Regions from separate parts of the Homo sapiens genome. Here all the other regions are linked to region 1. Evidence: promoter capture Hi-C in 16 types of primary human blood cells and fetal thymus (Javierre and others, 2016). All regions are on one chromosome and are shown on one strand. Each heading gives the region's core, a stretch centred on a gene start or on the middle of the fragment in contact. The rest is flanking DNA. Distances are from core to core; before and after follow the strand shown. Region 1 holds the start of PHF13 (PHD finger protein 13). Region 2 has its middle 5.7 kb from the start of TNFRSF9. Region 3 holds the start of PER3 (period circadian regulator 3).

Region 1 (4,465 bases), core at 1,032-3,531:
TCCAGAGCTCTCGGAGACCTGGACCCTGGAGTTCACTCCTGGCTGACCCTGCCAAGCTAGCGCCACCTGAGGACCCCTCTCTCGTGCTCAGAGGGTCCCCTCCACTGTCCCAGCCAGTCGGGATGCCAGGCACCCAACTATCTCAACTCACAATAAACCAAGAACCTTACTGCGAAGCTTAGTCTTACATTTAAACGGAATAGTGGAGGTTTTTGCTCGCGGGTCCCAGCCCCATTCCATCTAGAAACACCCATCACAAAAAGATATTTTCTCCTGAGAGAAGCACGGAGAGATGGAGCTCTTATTTGCTCCTAAGCAAAACAAGTGTGCCGTATTGCTGTTTATTCGCCCGGCACGTTCCCTGAGGTTCCTTTCAGTGCCTTGTCCGACCCACCCCCATCCTTCCCGAGGTGCTGTTACCCGGCCGCCACTCTGCTGGGGGAGAGCCGGTGGGGAAATGGGGGGCAGGGGTCTCGGGCCGCCCCTCCCGCCGCGAGGAGCAGGCGTGCGGCCCGCGGGTTTTCTTTCGAGAAAGTCGGTGCCCTTAGAAAATTATTTTCTCAACCTGGTTCAAGCAAACCTTCTCCTCTCCCACCCCCTTGGACCCCAGGGCCGCCCACGGAGCGGAGGCGAAGGCCCGCGTTGACCGCGCTCCCCGCACTGGCGAGCCTGCCCAGCCACGGGAACCGCGGGCCGCCACCCGGGCCTCCAACTCCCGCGAAGAACTTTTCTTTCGGCGGGGAACCAGCAGAAGTGGGTCAAAAACCCGAATGCCAAGTGGAGGGCGGCGACGGCCTCGGGCCGGGGGCGCGCGGGAGGCACCGGCGCGGGGACTGGGGGTTCCACGCCGCCCCCACACGGCCCACGCCGCCCGCCCCCCCGGCCGCCTCCTCGGAAAGCAGATGGCGGAGCGGCCCCCACCCGCCCTCCCGCGGCAGCCGCCCCCCGCGACACTCGGCCCCCGAAGGTGCGGGGCCCATCCCGCGAGTATGTGTGAGGGGGGTGCGCCAGGCAGGATTCCGGGGTCCCAGGCCTGGGGAGGCCCTGCGAACCCCCGGGGGCGGCAGCGAGACCGGCGGGCTCCGGCGCCGCCTCCCCTCCCCCACCCGCCCGCGGTCGCCGGACCCGCACCCCCGACCCCAACGAGCCTCGGCTGGGGGGAGGGGACCGCGCGGGGGGGAGGCCGGGAGCCCCGAGGGCCGATCCCCGGAAGGAGGGGGAGTGAGCCGGGGCGGAGCCAGCAAAGCCCGCGGGCGGGGGGCGGGGGCCCGAAGAGAGAGGCCAGCGCGCCGGGGGGCGGTGGGTGGGGGCAGGACTCGGGTCCCCAGAGCGGGTGGGGCCCCCGGAGGACGCGGCCCCCGAGAGCCGTAGGGGGCGGGGGCCGACTGGGCCCCGCGCGGAGTCAGGGGGCGGGGCGCGGGCCACCGGGCCCGGGGGATCGGGGGAGCAGCCGGGGGCCTCGGGAGCCGACCCCGGTCCGAGGGGGGCCTAAAACTCCTCGAGAGCAACCGGAGCCAGGGGCGGGCGGCGGCTCGGACCGCGTCCCCGGGGGCGGGGAAAGAGTAAGCAGGCCGGCGGGGAGGGGCTGGGGGCGCCGACAGGTCCCAGGTCGACGCGAGGCCGGAGAGGGGCGGCCCGGGGGAGAGAAATAGGCGCAACGGCCCTGGGGAAAGGGCGCGGGGAGGACGCGGAGGTCCGCGGAGGGGACGCGGAGGCGAGGCCCGGCGGAGAGGACCGAGCGCGGGCCCGAGCAGGGGGCGGGGGTTGGGCTCCCGGGGGGGCCGACGAGGGGAAAGCGGGGGAAGGGGAGGGCGGCGCTCCGGGCGACCGGGGGTCTGGCTGCCTGAGGACGGCAGGATCGCGGAGGGGGTGGTCGGGGGCGATTCGGACGCACAGCTTCACTCACCTCCGGGTGGAAGGCGGCGGCGCAAGAGTCAGAGTCCATGTTCCGGGCGGGGGGCGGCGGCGGCTGCGAGAGTGCAGGAGCTGGGATGCTGGAGCGGGGCCGCCCGGGGCTGGGGGCTCGGGCGGCTGCGCAGGGCGAGGGCGGACCCGGGAGGGGTCGCCCGGGCTGGAGGTGATGGGGGGCTCAGCGCGTCGCTTCTCAAGCTCTGTGACCCCGGACTGGCGGTTCCACCGCCGACCGGAGTGGACGATGCAGCTCCCGCGGCGGTAGAGGCGGGAGAGTGGCTGCAGGGGGCGGCGGCGGCGGCGGTGAGCGGGAACCCGACCGGCTCCCCGACCTGACGCCCAGTTCGGCTCGTGTCTCGGGAGGGAGGGCGGGAGAGCCGGGAGGCCTGTCGGGAAATGTAGTCTGGGTGGCGACTGGAAGCCAGCGGCGAGGGGGCGTGGCGCGGGAGGCGGGCGCGGTGCCTTGTGGGAGTGGTAGTCCAAGGCCCCGCCAATACTGCGCACAAAGGAAACCTTGGGGACTCCAACCCCCATGAGGCTCCGCGGCGGCGGCCCCGGTGTGTGGAGGCGGGTCTTCTGGACTCGAGGCCGCGCGAGCGGGGGAGGTGCGGGGGCCCGCGCCGGCTCGGCCGCGGGGGGAGGGGCAGTGTGAGCGGTAGCGCCTTGGTCTCGGCGGGCGCGGGGGCGGGAGTCGCTGCGGCGGTGGGGGCGGGGCTGACGGCCCGGGTTGCGAAGGGCGGCGGCGGCTGGCACCTACCCTTCCTCGTCTCCTACTTGGGGTTCGCGCCCCTTTGTGGGGCGGGGGTCCCCGAGGCCTGGCCGGGAGTAGGGGCGGCAGGGGCGGGGACGCTGACGTCGCGGCCGCCCCGGGCATCGCTCCCCGCTCCCCGCTCCCCGCTGAGGGCGGAGTCGCCGCCCGGCCCCCGCTCCAGGCCGGGCTCAGCGAAGTTGTTTTCGCGGCTGCGGGCTTCGTGCGGCTCCCTGCTCCGGGCCCGCGGGGCCGGGACTGGACCGGGCTCTTCTCTAGGCATCTGCGGGATTCACTCGAGGTGGCCGGGTTCGTGCATTAAAAACACCGGGCCAGCGTTGTCAGTGTTCTAAAGAGGTGTGCGTTCAGTTTGCTTTCTGTTGCCGCCTAAGCCTAACCTTGGGACCGGCCGTTTTCCCACTCTCCTGAATATCCTCCGGCCCGCAGGGCGAGGCGGAGACGCGGTGTTTGGCGCTGGCATCGACTGGTACTTGTTTAGTGGTGTTTAACTGGGATGGGCAGTGTGTAAACGCTGGACCGCAGAGTATCCGACAGCTGTACGTGTGGAAGGCTGGCCGGACACGGTGGGGACTGCCCCTATGCGGTGACCAAAAGGCGGTCTGACGGGAACATTTTTAATATTCGAAAGTGGGGGAAAAAGGTAAGTACAAAACGCAGATGATTCAGTAACCTGTTTGGTAGCTTCGAAGAAGTTAAAGGGGAGTGACACAAAATTGAAAATTCAAATTAGAAAACGAACTCTTGGAGATACTAGTAAGATATTTGACAGGCGCCGAATGCTCCATCAAGCTGGCTGTTGCTATTTCAAGGGTTATGATCATTCTGATGAAGATATTTAATAGTTAGGAGATGGTGTTAATCTTAGAAATACTTCTCTGAGCGGCCGGGCGCGGTGGCTCGCGCCTGTATTCCCAGCACTTTGGGAGGCCGAGGCGGGTGGATCACGAGGTCAGGAGTTCGAAACCAGCCTGACCAACATGGTGAAACCCCGTCTTTACTAAAAATACAAAAATTAGATGGGCGTGGTGGCGGACACCTGTAATCCCAGCTACTCGGGAGGCTGAGGCGGGAGAATTGCTTGAACCCGGGAGGCGGAGCTTGCAGTGAGCCGAGATCGTGCCACTGCACTCCAGCCTGGGCGACAGAGCGAGACTCTGTCTCAAAAAAAAAAAAAAAAATACTTCTCTGAGCCTCAGTTTCCTAAGCTGTTAAATTTTAGCGTAGTGCCTGGCTAAATAAATGGTAGCTTACTGTTGTTGTTGTTGTTGTTGTTTTATTATTTCTGCAATATTGTAGCCCATTGGAGGGCTTCCCAAAGGTGATAAATTGAGGTACTTTACAAGATAAAACATGAAATTACTGATTAAAACAGAGACATTGGACTTGGCCCATCGAGACTTGATTAACAACTTCTTATACAATTGCACAGATGATTTAGCCAGATTTGGAATGTTACCTGGTTACTGTGACCAAAGCAGATGCCCCGAAGTTAGCCTGTATTGCCCAAGGTCATATTCACAAGGAGCAACTCGTTTTGCCAGAATAAGAAACACTGCTAAGGTGTTGATCCCGTTGGTAGTTTAAAAATGTAAATACCAAAAAGAATAATTCTTTTTTTTTTTGGAGACAGAATCTCCCTCTGTCGCCAGGCTGGAGTACAGTGGCGCCATCTCAGCTCACTGCAACCTCCACCTCCCGGGTTCAAGCGATTCTCCTGCCTCAGCCTCCCAAGTAGCCTGGACTACCAGCGCCCACCACCACGCCCAGCTAGTTTTTGTATTTTTA
Region 2 (4,465 bases), core at 1,141-3,640, 1.3 Mb before region 1:
GTCTCAGGAATTGAACTCCCTTGGCTTCTGTTTCTTCACATTAGAATAGTAACAATAATTCTTACCTCATGGAGTTCCTGCATTGCAGATGTTATGCTCAACACTTTTTTTGTGTGCATCTGTGAGACAGAGTCTCACTCTGTTGCCCAGGCTAAGGGGCAGTGGTGTGATCTCGGCTCACTGTAACCTCCACTTCCCAGGTTCAAGTGATTCTCCCACCTCAGCCTCCCAAGCAGCTGGGACTACAGGCACACGCCACCATGCCCAGCTAATTTTGGTATTTTTAGTAGAGACGGGATTTCACCATGTTGGCCAGGCTGGTCTCAAATGCCTGACCTCAGGTGATCCGCCCACCTCGGCCTCCTAAAGTGCTGGGATTACAGGGATGAGCCACCGCACCCGGCCTATGCTCAACACTTTAAATATTTTATTTAGCCTCTTCAGAAGGAACAAAATCTGTCTTCTGAGACTAAATAAAACATTTAAAGTGTTTAGCATAACATCTGCAATGCAGGAAGCCACCCATAAGTATTAGCTCTTGTTATTAGAAAACATTTATTTAGTGGTAGTCGCAATCTGTTTAAATTCAGCGTTGAAGGGACCAGAGGAATGGACCACAGAATGTGATACACCATAAACATGTGCCATCTTGGTGAGGATGGTGAGGGACAGAAATGACATAGAGTTTTTGCCTTAAGATACAATGACAGCATCTGGAGAAATAATCAAAGTGAAGCTTGCTCTTGGAGTAAGAGCAAGTTCCCAGAGCTCAAACTGTTTAAGCGCATGAGCGACAGCAAGGAGACTTCATACAGGGGTTGTGACCCTGAGGTCCACAGATGCTCAAAGGTGCACAGATAAAAATCAGGGAGTCTGTGAACTTAGATTTAAATTACATCTTTAGTTTCACTAACCTCTAATGGAAATCTAAACCTAACATTTCTTCCCATTTGGAATATAGTAATTCACAAAGCATAGCTGAAGGAACAGTACTCATGGCTTGGGACCAATAGTACTGAAAGTCATCTTCATATCACATTACAGTTCTTGCAGATATCCCAGAATACCATTTTGATTCATGATTAATTTGAAATTATGCCAGATACATGTTAAGTCCATATATTAGTGCATCACAAATTGGCTTTTAAAATATTTGGCAGGGACATTTCAATTCAGTTGGTTTCCTTTGTAATCCTTTGTAATATATTTTATGAATTACGAATCCTATTCTGAGGGCTCCACAAGCATAGGACCCACAAGCGAATGGGGCCTTGGGCACAGGCAGGTTAAGAGTCTGGTTAAGAGCATGGGCTCTGCAGCCAGACAGCCGAGTTTCTAATCCTTTCTCGGCTCCTTACTAGCCAGGTGACACCAGGCAGGCTACCTGGCTTCTCTGTGCCCTTGTTTCCTCACCTGTGAAACAGGGACAAAGGCTGTCCTAAGGTATAATTGTGGGAACTTCTGTAAATACATAGAACAGTGCCTTGCGCATAGTAAGCCCTCGGCCAGTGTCAGCCGTGATCAGAAAAGCATTTTACATGAGACCTGAGAAAGGACAATGACAGCTCAGGTTGGGGTCTGCATGCCAGAATGATTTCCCCAGGAAGAGAGTGAAATTAAAACATTAGGTCATGAAGAGACAGGCAGACCGCAGGACTGGAGTGAACAAATCCATGTATTTATTTGTTCATTTGATAAAGGTTTATTGACTACCAACTGTGTGTCTCTCAGCGCTGTCTCTAACACTTTTGGGGCCTGGAGCAAGTATAGAAATGGGGCCCACACACCATGTCTGAATATTTAAAAGTGGCAAATCAAGCGCAAGGAGAATATTCTACTTCACAGAGAAGTCTTCAAAGTAACTAAATAACAAATTATTTTTATGTAACAAAGTTGGCAAAGATGACTGAGTTTAACTAACATTACAAATGTGTAGATGTTTTCTGATGACCTGAAAATGTTTAAATTAGTGGTAAATAAAGGCATACAGGGCCGGGCATGGTGACTCACGCCTGTAAGCCCAGCACTTTGGGAGGCCGAGGCAGGCAGATCACCTGAGTTCAGGAGTTTGAGACCATCCTGGCCAATGCGGTGAAACCCCGTCTCTACTAAAAATACAAAAATTAGCCGGGTGTGGTGGCACACACCTGCAGTCCCAGCTACTTGGGAGGCTGAGTGGGGAGAATCGCTTGAACCCAGGAGGCAGAGGTTGCAGTGAGCCGAGATCACACCACTGCACTCCAGCCTGGGTGACACAGCGAGACTTCGTCTCAAAAAAAAAAAAAGACACACATAGTTCATAAATAATTGTATTTTTATCTAGAAAATTTATTTTTTTGCTTTCATTTCATTTGTTACAATAGATAATTTCGCATAATTTGTGTTTGGACAGTAATGACTTAAAGGATTAAGAAATAAAATATAATTGTACTTAACATATACAGCATTTGTATGTATTTAATATAATGTGTGAATTTGAGTATGTAAAATTTTAAATTTGTTTTTACATTCGTTTTTTCATTTTTCTAAAAGTTCCAAAAGTATTAGAATTAAAAACAAATTATAGTGGATAAATATCAAATATTTAAAACTTATTTTTATTAAAGAACTGAGATTTTTAATCTTTTGAAATTTAAATTGTTTTAAATATTTTTATAAAAATTGAAATTGTCATTCTGGGTCTCAGTCCTAGGTGATTCTAGTAAAGAATTAATGCTGCAGTTCTTATTCTACATATTACATATGTGCATATTCAAGAATAATATGAATTGTTTAATATTACAAAGTCTTCCTCAGACTTTGTGCATAACTGCTGTGAATTCCATGGCAATATACAAGAACTTCCAAAACCACCAAGTGGGCCATAAATTGGATCAAGCAAGTGGATAACCAGCCTGAGCAACATGGCAAAACCCCTTTCTACAAAAAAATATAAAACTTAGCTGGGCAAGGTGGTGCGCACCTGTAGTCCCAGTTACTCGGGAGGCTGAGGCAGAAGAATCCCTTGAACCCTGGAGGCAGAAGCTGCAGTGAGCCAAGATTGCACCACTGCACTACAGCCTGGGTGACAGAGTGAGACCCTGTCTCAAAAAAAAAAAAAAAAAGGATACTTGGGACTGTAGGGAAATACCACTGTCTGTGATATTCTTGCATAATAATAGATTATACAAGAATCTGTTACACCCTTGGTATCTGAGATGGATTTGACAAATCTACTTGCCTTTTGTCTGCCTGGTACTTCTATGGCTCACACCCTCCCTGCCGTTCTTGGAGGCAACAGCACAGCTCACAACTCTCACAGCACGGTGTCACCCTCAAATGGAGTTTCAAGGACATGGATCCAGGGATGTGGGGGAGTCTTCACCCAGGCCTGGCAGTGTGGGTCCAGAGAGCAGATGGAGCCGAGTTAATGCATCCCTATGCCAGCACCGTGCGCCAGACACCCAGTCACAGACGCAGCTCTGTGTTCATTGTGTTTGTGTGTTTGTGTCTCTGCTCTGGACAGAACATACTTAACAGCGTATTTGGATTGATGAACAATTTCTAAATATTTGGACACATGGTAAGCAGGCCTCTGTTTGTACTCTTGTCCTGGGGACTGCACAGTGTTGGGGGTGGTCTGAAGTTGGAGACAACTATTGATAAGCCTTAGCATATGAGTGGATGCCACCTGGAGAAAGGGCAGAACAAGGAGGAAAGGTGAGCAAAGTCGATGGCTGCTGACACCCGCCTCTCCTTATGATTCGTACTTCCTTCTCCTTACTCTGCCTCCTTCCTCTTTGATTTCCTGCTCATTTTCTTTGTTCCAAGTTTAAAAACAATTTACTCCTTCCCAGGCCTCAGAACACCTACTGACATCACAAGCACCAGGTATGTCTAATAGTGACTACTAGTTTGGGTGTTTGGAGTAGGGGTGGCGACACTGAATCTTGAAAGAATAGATCTTTCAGGCAGAAAACAAGTGTAAACAGTGAATATCCCACGGAAGAGATTCCCTCTAAGATGCGCCCTGGAAGGGCGGAAGAATATTTTATAGGAAGCTTATTTTGAGGGCTTTCTCTTTCTAAATGTCTCCTTTATCCTGTTTAGAATTGTTGGGCCTTCATGCTATTTAGCCTCAAAGTATTTAGCTGCTTGAGATATTCAAGATTAGACCTATAGTCAATCAAAATGAAATAAAATCTATTTCTTGGTTTATTTATTTATTTATTTTTTTTTTATTTTATTTATTTATTTATTTTTTTGAGATGGAGTCTCGCCCTGTCGCCCAGGCTGGAGTGCAGTGGCACGATCTGGGCTCACTGCAAGCTCCGTGTCCCGGGTTCACGCCATTCTCCTGCCTCAGCCTCCAGAGTAGCTGGGACTACAGGCACCTGCCACAACGCCTTGCTAATTTTTTTTTGTATTTTTAGTAGAGATGGGGTTTCACCATGTTAGCCAGGATGGTCTCGATCTCCTGACCTTG
Region 3 (4,465 bases), core at 1,395-3,894, 1.2 Mb before region 1:
TTGCTGAAACGTTGTTATCCTTCTTAAAAGCCTACATCTAGAGCAGGCCCTTAGGAAAAGTCACCCAGGTTGATATGGCAAAATGCATGAATTCTTACTGTGTTTTTGGAAGTGTGTTCTGAAGCGATAGTGGCCAGCTCCTCAAGACTGTACATGCTCACATCTGCCTGAGGTGCTCCATTCTGACTGAGAATCTGGAAAAACTCACTGTTTGCTAAGAAACACAGGGAGATAAACAGGTAGTCCAGTGACAACAGTATCTTTAGGAAACCATTTCATCACTATCAAGCTGGATTATTTTTTTCGGATGAGAACACCTCAGTGCATTTTTCTCAAAAACAGATCATTTTCTGCTTTTACCTAAAATACTGATAGTTGTGCAAACTTAAGATTTGATTTTATGAATTCTGCATGTTCTGGATCACAGGAAGCAAGATACATTTAAGGTACTAACTAAAAATTTCAGATGCATACACAATTTTTTTGCGGGGGGAGCAGAAACAGTACTCTGTCATTCAGGAACATATCATATATGAAGCACTGAGGTTTGTGCTAAAGAGAATATGGCTTTAATGAAATCCCTGGAAATGTCAGAGAGAAAAAGTGTTTACAATGGTTCATTTTTAGTTTGGTAAATTCCTGATATATCATTACTGCATTTTTATCATTATTATTTTTTAGAGACAGAGTCTCGCTCTGTCACCCAGGCGGGAGTGCAGTGGCGTGATCTCGGCTCACTGCAAGCTCCGCCTCCCGGGTTCACGCCGTTCTCCTGTCTCAGCCTCCCGAATAGCTGGACTACAGGCGCCCGCCACCACACCCGGCTAATTTTTTGTATTTTTAGTAGAGACGGGGTTTCACCGTATTAGCCAGGATGGTCTCGATCTCCTGACCTCGTGATCTGCCCGCCTCGGCCTCCCAAAGTGCTGGGATTACAGGCGTGAGGCACCGCGCCCAGCCTCATTACTGCATTTTGAAAGTATGTGTACGGCATGTAAAGGTAACTATTTCGTGGAATGCATTTTTTTCCCATAACTTCCATAGAAGACAATATTTCTTTAAAAGGTCAGCCTTCAAAATGTGCTTATGCTAAACTCTACTCTCTTGCAACACATGAGCAAAACATTGCATAGGTATTATACACTATTATACAGATAAAGTTTTCCTGGTCTTTCACATGTGAACAATTAAGACACGAATGGAATCGGTGTAGATTTGCTCATCTTCCACAAAGCACCAGAAAAAGCTCAAATTATTTGTCTGACTGAGACCCCACTGACCACTCCTCTGGCTGCTTGTATGAGTCCTGGTGCATTCGTAGGATGAAATTTCTCTCCGGCTTGTTTACCTTGAACGCTGTGGACACAGCGGAGAGCATAGTTGAGGGCATCTAGAGTGCTTGGTTTATTGCGTCTCTCCGAGGGGAAGTATTTTTTCATTTCTTGGACAACCATGATAAGTTCTTCAGAAACTCTGTTTCGATCTTGCTGTTCACTGGAAGATAAAAAAAAATTACAACTTCATCCTCTGAAGACAACAGCATCTTGCGGCTTAGGGAACACAAACTGCAAGCCAGGTAAGTTTCTAAGTGCTCTACCGGCATCAGTCCACAGGGTGGTGACCCCTCTTCCTCTAGGTGGGGAACTCGAGGCAAAGCAACTGGTGAATGACAAACATTCTCCACTTACTTTCCCTTAATCCACTTGAGCCCCAACTCAGCTAACTTTTGTAACCACTTTTCCCTCCTGATACTCTTCGGTAATTTTCTTCAGTGTCACGGATCACTTCATCCTACATTGCCCGAGTCTCCCCTTTACACTTTCCCCTGGGCTTGAAAACAAAAGAATAAAAAGATTTAGGTCCCCCTTTCCCTGCTCCAGGGAAGGACAACGAACGCATGGGGCCCTCGGCCTGAAGCCAGCGCGTCACCTGTGGCTGCTGTCCGCCAATTTCCTCTGCAGATGGAACTCGGGGCTCCACCGCTCCCCCGATTCTTCGCCCAGGGCCTCGTCCTTAGCCCCCCGTCTCCCGGGGCCAGGAGCTTCCCCGCGGGGCATCTCGAGGTCTCCGCGGGGCTCCACGTCGTGCTGGGACGGCCCGCAGCCTGCTTCTCGCTCACTTTGCAGTCAGTGACAGACACCGGTTTCTCACTCCGGTCCCCGCCATGGCGTTAGTGAGAACAGGCGGCCACCACGAGCCAGGGGGTCACGCTCATCTCCGAGGAGCTTTTCCCTCCAACATTTTCAAAACCCGGAGCTCGCTCGACTTTCAGGACTCCGGCCTAGGGGGAGGAGACAAGGGTGACAAGGGACAAATGGAACAGACAGTCCGACGCCAGCGGCCCGGCTGGCTGGGGCGCCCCGACCGCGCGGTCCTCACCCCTGCCCCAACTTTCCCGCGCGCCGAGGGATGGGGCCCGGGGAGGCGGGTGGCTCGGAAGCGCCACGCTCCGGGGGCCCCCAGTACCGAGGGCAGGGCTCGCGGGGCTCCTCTGCCGCGCGCGAGTGCCCAGAACTCCCGCCCGGCCGCCCAGAACTCCCGCCCGGCCGCGCACTCACCTGCTGCCCCCGCCCTTGGCCCCGCGCACAGCCGCTCGCCCCCGGGGCCGCCCTCGCGCAGTCTCGAGGCTCGCCGCGTGCCGGTCAGCAGCCGGCGCCGCGCCCCCTGCCGCCGCGTGACCGGTCCCGCCCCCGGGCCGTGCGATTGGTCGTCGGGGCCGACTCCGCAGGCCTCCATTGGCCCTGGGGCGGGGCGCGAGCCGGTGCGCCCGGGTTATATAAGCCAGGGCGAGGGGGCGGGGCCCCCGGGGCGCGTTACATAACGCGCGGGCTCGGGCGGAGGCCGGCGCTCGGCCAATCCCAGCAGGCCGGCGGGCGGGCAGGGGACGGGGTGGCCCTCAGCGGCCTCAGGCCTGTGCCGCGCGACTGGAGTGTCCGGCCCCCTGGCACGGCGCCGGGGCGGAGCCGCTGAAGCCAGCGCAGAAATGATAGGGCCAGGAAGCTGCCAGCCACGTGGGGGCGGGACCCGGGCTCTGTGGGGCGGGGCGGGTCCGGCCCAACCTCCACGTGAGAGGCGGGCGGGGAAGGAGAGGGGAGTGAGAGGCGGGGGCAGAGAGGGGCGAGAGGCGGAGTCGGGGGGCTTGAGTCGGGGTCAGGGGGAGGCTGGAAATGGGGACGGATGGGGGCGAGAGGCGGGGACGGGGGGGCGGATGGGAGCGGGGGTGCCGAGAGACGTGGGGAGCGAGAGGCAGGGGCGGGGGGGCGACGGTGTCGAGGGCGGGGGCATTAGAGGGAGGGAGAGGCGGGGACTGGGGGCGAGCAGGGGCGGCTCAGGCCAGCGCTCTGGGGTCGAGTCCTGGAGTTTGTAGGTGGCTCCCGGCTGCCCGAGCGGGTGTGGGGAGGAGCCCAGGGTGGGGCGGGCTGCCGGCAGCGGTCCTCATCGTGCTTTGGCCGTCTTTCTGGGTTCCCACGGTTTTCACCGCCCGTGACCTACCGAGCCCACCCCAACCGCCCCCATCCTCCGCTAACTCTTTCGGTGAGTGGGGTGGACTTGGAGGAACCGGGCCATAAAGCAGCCCTGGTAAAAAGCCCACCCGATTTTTAGAAACAGATTTTTTATTTTTTGAGACAGGGTTTTGCTCTGTTGTCCAGGCTGGATGGAGTGCAGTGGCGCGATTTTGGCTCACTGCAACCTCCGTCTTCTGGGCTCAAGCCAGTTTCCTGCTTCAGCCTCCCGAGTAGCTGGAACTACAGGTGCAGCCACCACACCTGGCTAATTTTTGTGTTTTTGGTAAAGATGGTCTGTGTTAGCCAGGCTGTTCTCAAACTCCTAAGCCCCAGTGATCTGCTGGCCTCGGTCTCCCAAAATGTTGGGATTACTGGCGTGAGCCACTGCACCGGCCCAGAAACAGAATTTTGACGGTGGAACTTAAAACACTTCCCTGCACTTCCTAAAATTAGATTCATTTGGCAACTGGAGGAAGACAAACGTAAAAGACACTCTGTTTCAGAAAAGAAGTTGTAGAGCCCTTTAAAAAAAATGTCTGAAAGCTCAGTTTAGTATCTCAACATGTTAGAAATGAAAGGTACAGTGCAGAGTGCCGCCCCTCTTCGCTGCCTGGTACAGAAAAAATATTCAGTATTTGTTGGATGGATGAAATTGTATGTAAAGGAAGAGGGGAAAAGTGAGGTGAGTGTTCATGTTAGGTATTGAATAAACCACCTTATATCTTCCAAGCGATACTCTAGGTTGGCTTGCTCTCCTCCGAAGCTGGGTTTTGTCAAACTGCATTCGTTCAGCAAGCATTTATTGCGTGCAGATCTGGGTAGGGACGCTTGGAATCCCAGCGGATAGAACAGTGGCCCAAAGTCCCTGCCACCCAGGGAGTTGACGTTTTATTGAGAAAGCCATACAAACAACCCCATAAACAAGTTCATAAAGCCTAAAGCGATGTGTAGAAAACAAA

The links. Contacts are between HindIII fragments. The CHiCAGO score rates a contact against its expected background, and 5 or more counts as called.
Region 2: a contact is called between a fragment that was not itself captured here and the fragment with the promoter of PHF13 in region 1, in 1 of 17 cell types (neutrophils). The highest score is 5.1, in neutrophils.
Region 3: a contact is called between the fragment with the promoter of PER3 here and the fragment with the promoter of PHF13 in region 1, in 1 of 17 cell types (M0 macrophages). The highest score is 6.3, in M0 macrophages.

The regions. Positions count from the first base shown.
Region 1 is chr1:6,611,547-6,616,011 of GRCh38, reverse strand. PHF13 (PHD finger protein 13) reads right to left here and starts at 2,281. Exons shown (of 4, transcript NM_153812.3): 1 at 1,907-2,281. The coding sequence starts at 1,945. LOC107984913 (a long non-coding RNA gene) reads left to right here and starts at 2,625. Exons shown (of 2, transcript XR_001737882.3): 1 at 2,625-3,320. RefSeq lists silencers at 1,093-1,552, 1,693-1,782, 1,953-2,732, 2,783-2,832. The HindIII fragment of the contact is 6,383 bases long and covers 180-4,465 here.
Region 2 is chr1:7,944,329-7,948,793 of GRCh38, reverse strand. No RefSeq gene overlaps it. Among named protein-coding and RNA genes, the nearest start is that of TNFRSF9, 5.7 kb to the right of the region's middle. The HindIII fragment of the contact is 3,304 bases long and covers 739-4,042 here.
Region 3 is chr1:7,782,470-7,786,934 of GRCh38, reverse strand. It overlaps PER3 (period circadian regulator 3), which reads right to left and starts at 2,644. Exons shown (of 22, transcript NM_001377275.1): 1 at 2,559-2,644; 2 at 1,930-2,281; 3 at 1,349-1,494; 4 at 99-214. The coding sequence starts at 2,057. RefSeq lists a silencer at 2,569-3,178. The HindIII fragment of the contact is 8,097 bases long and covers 1-4,465 here.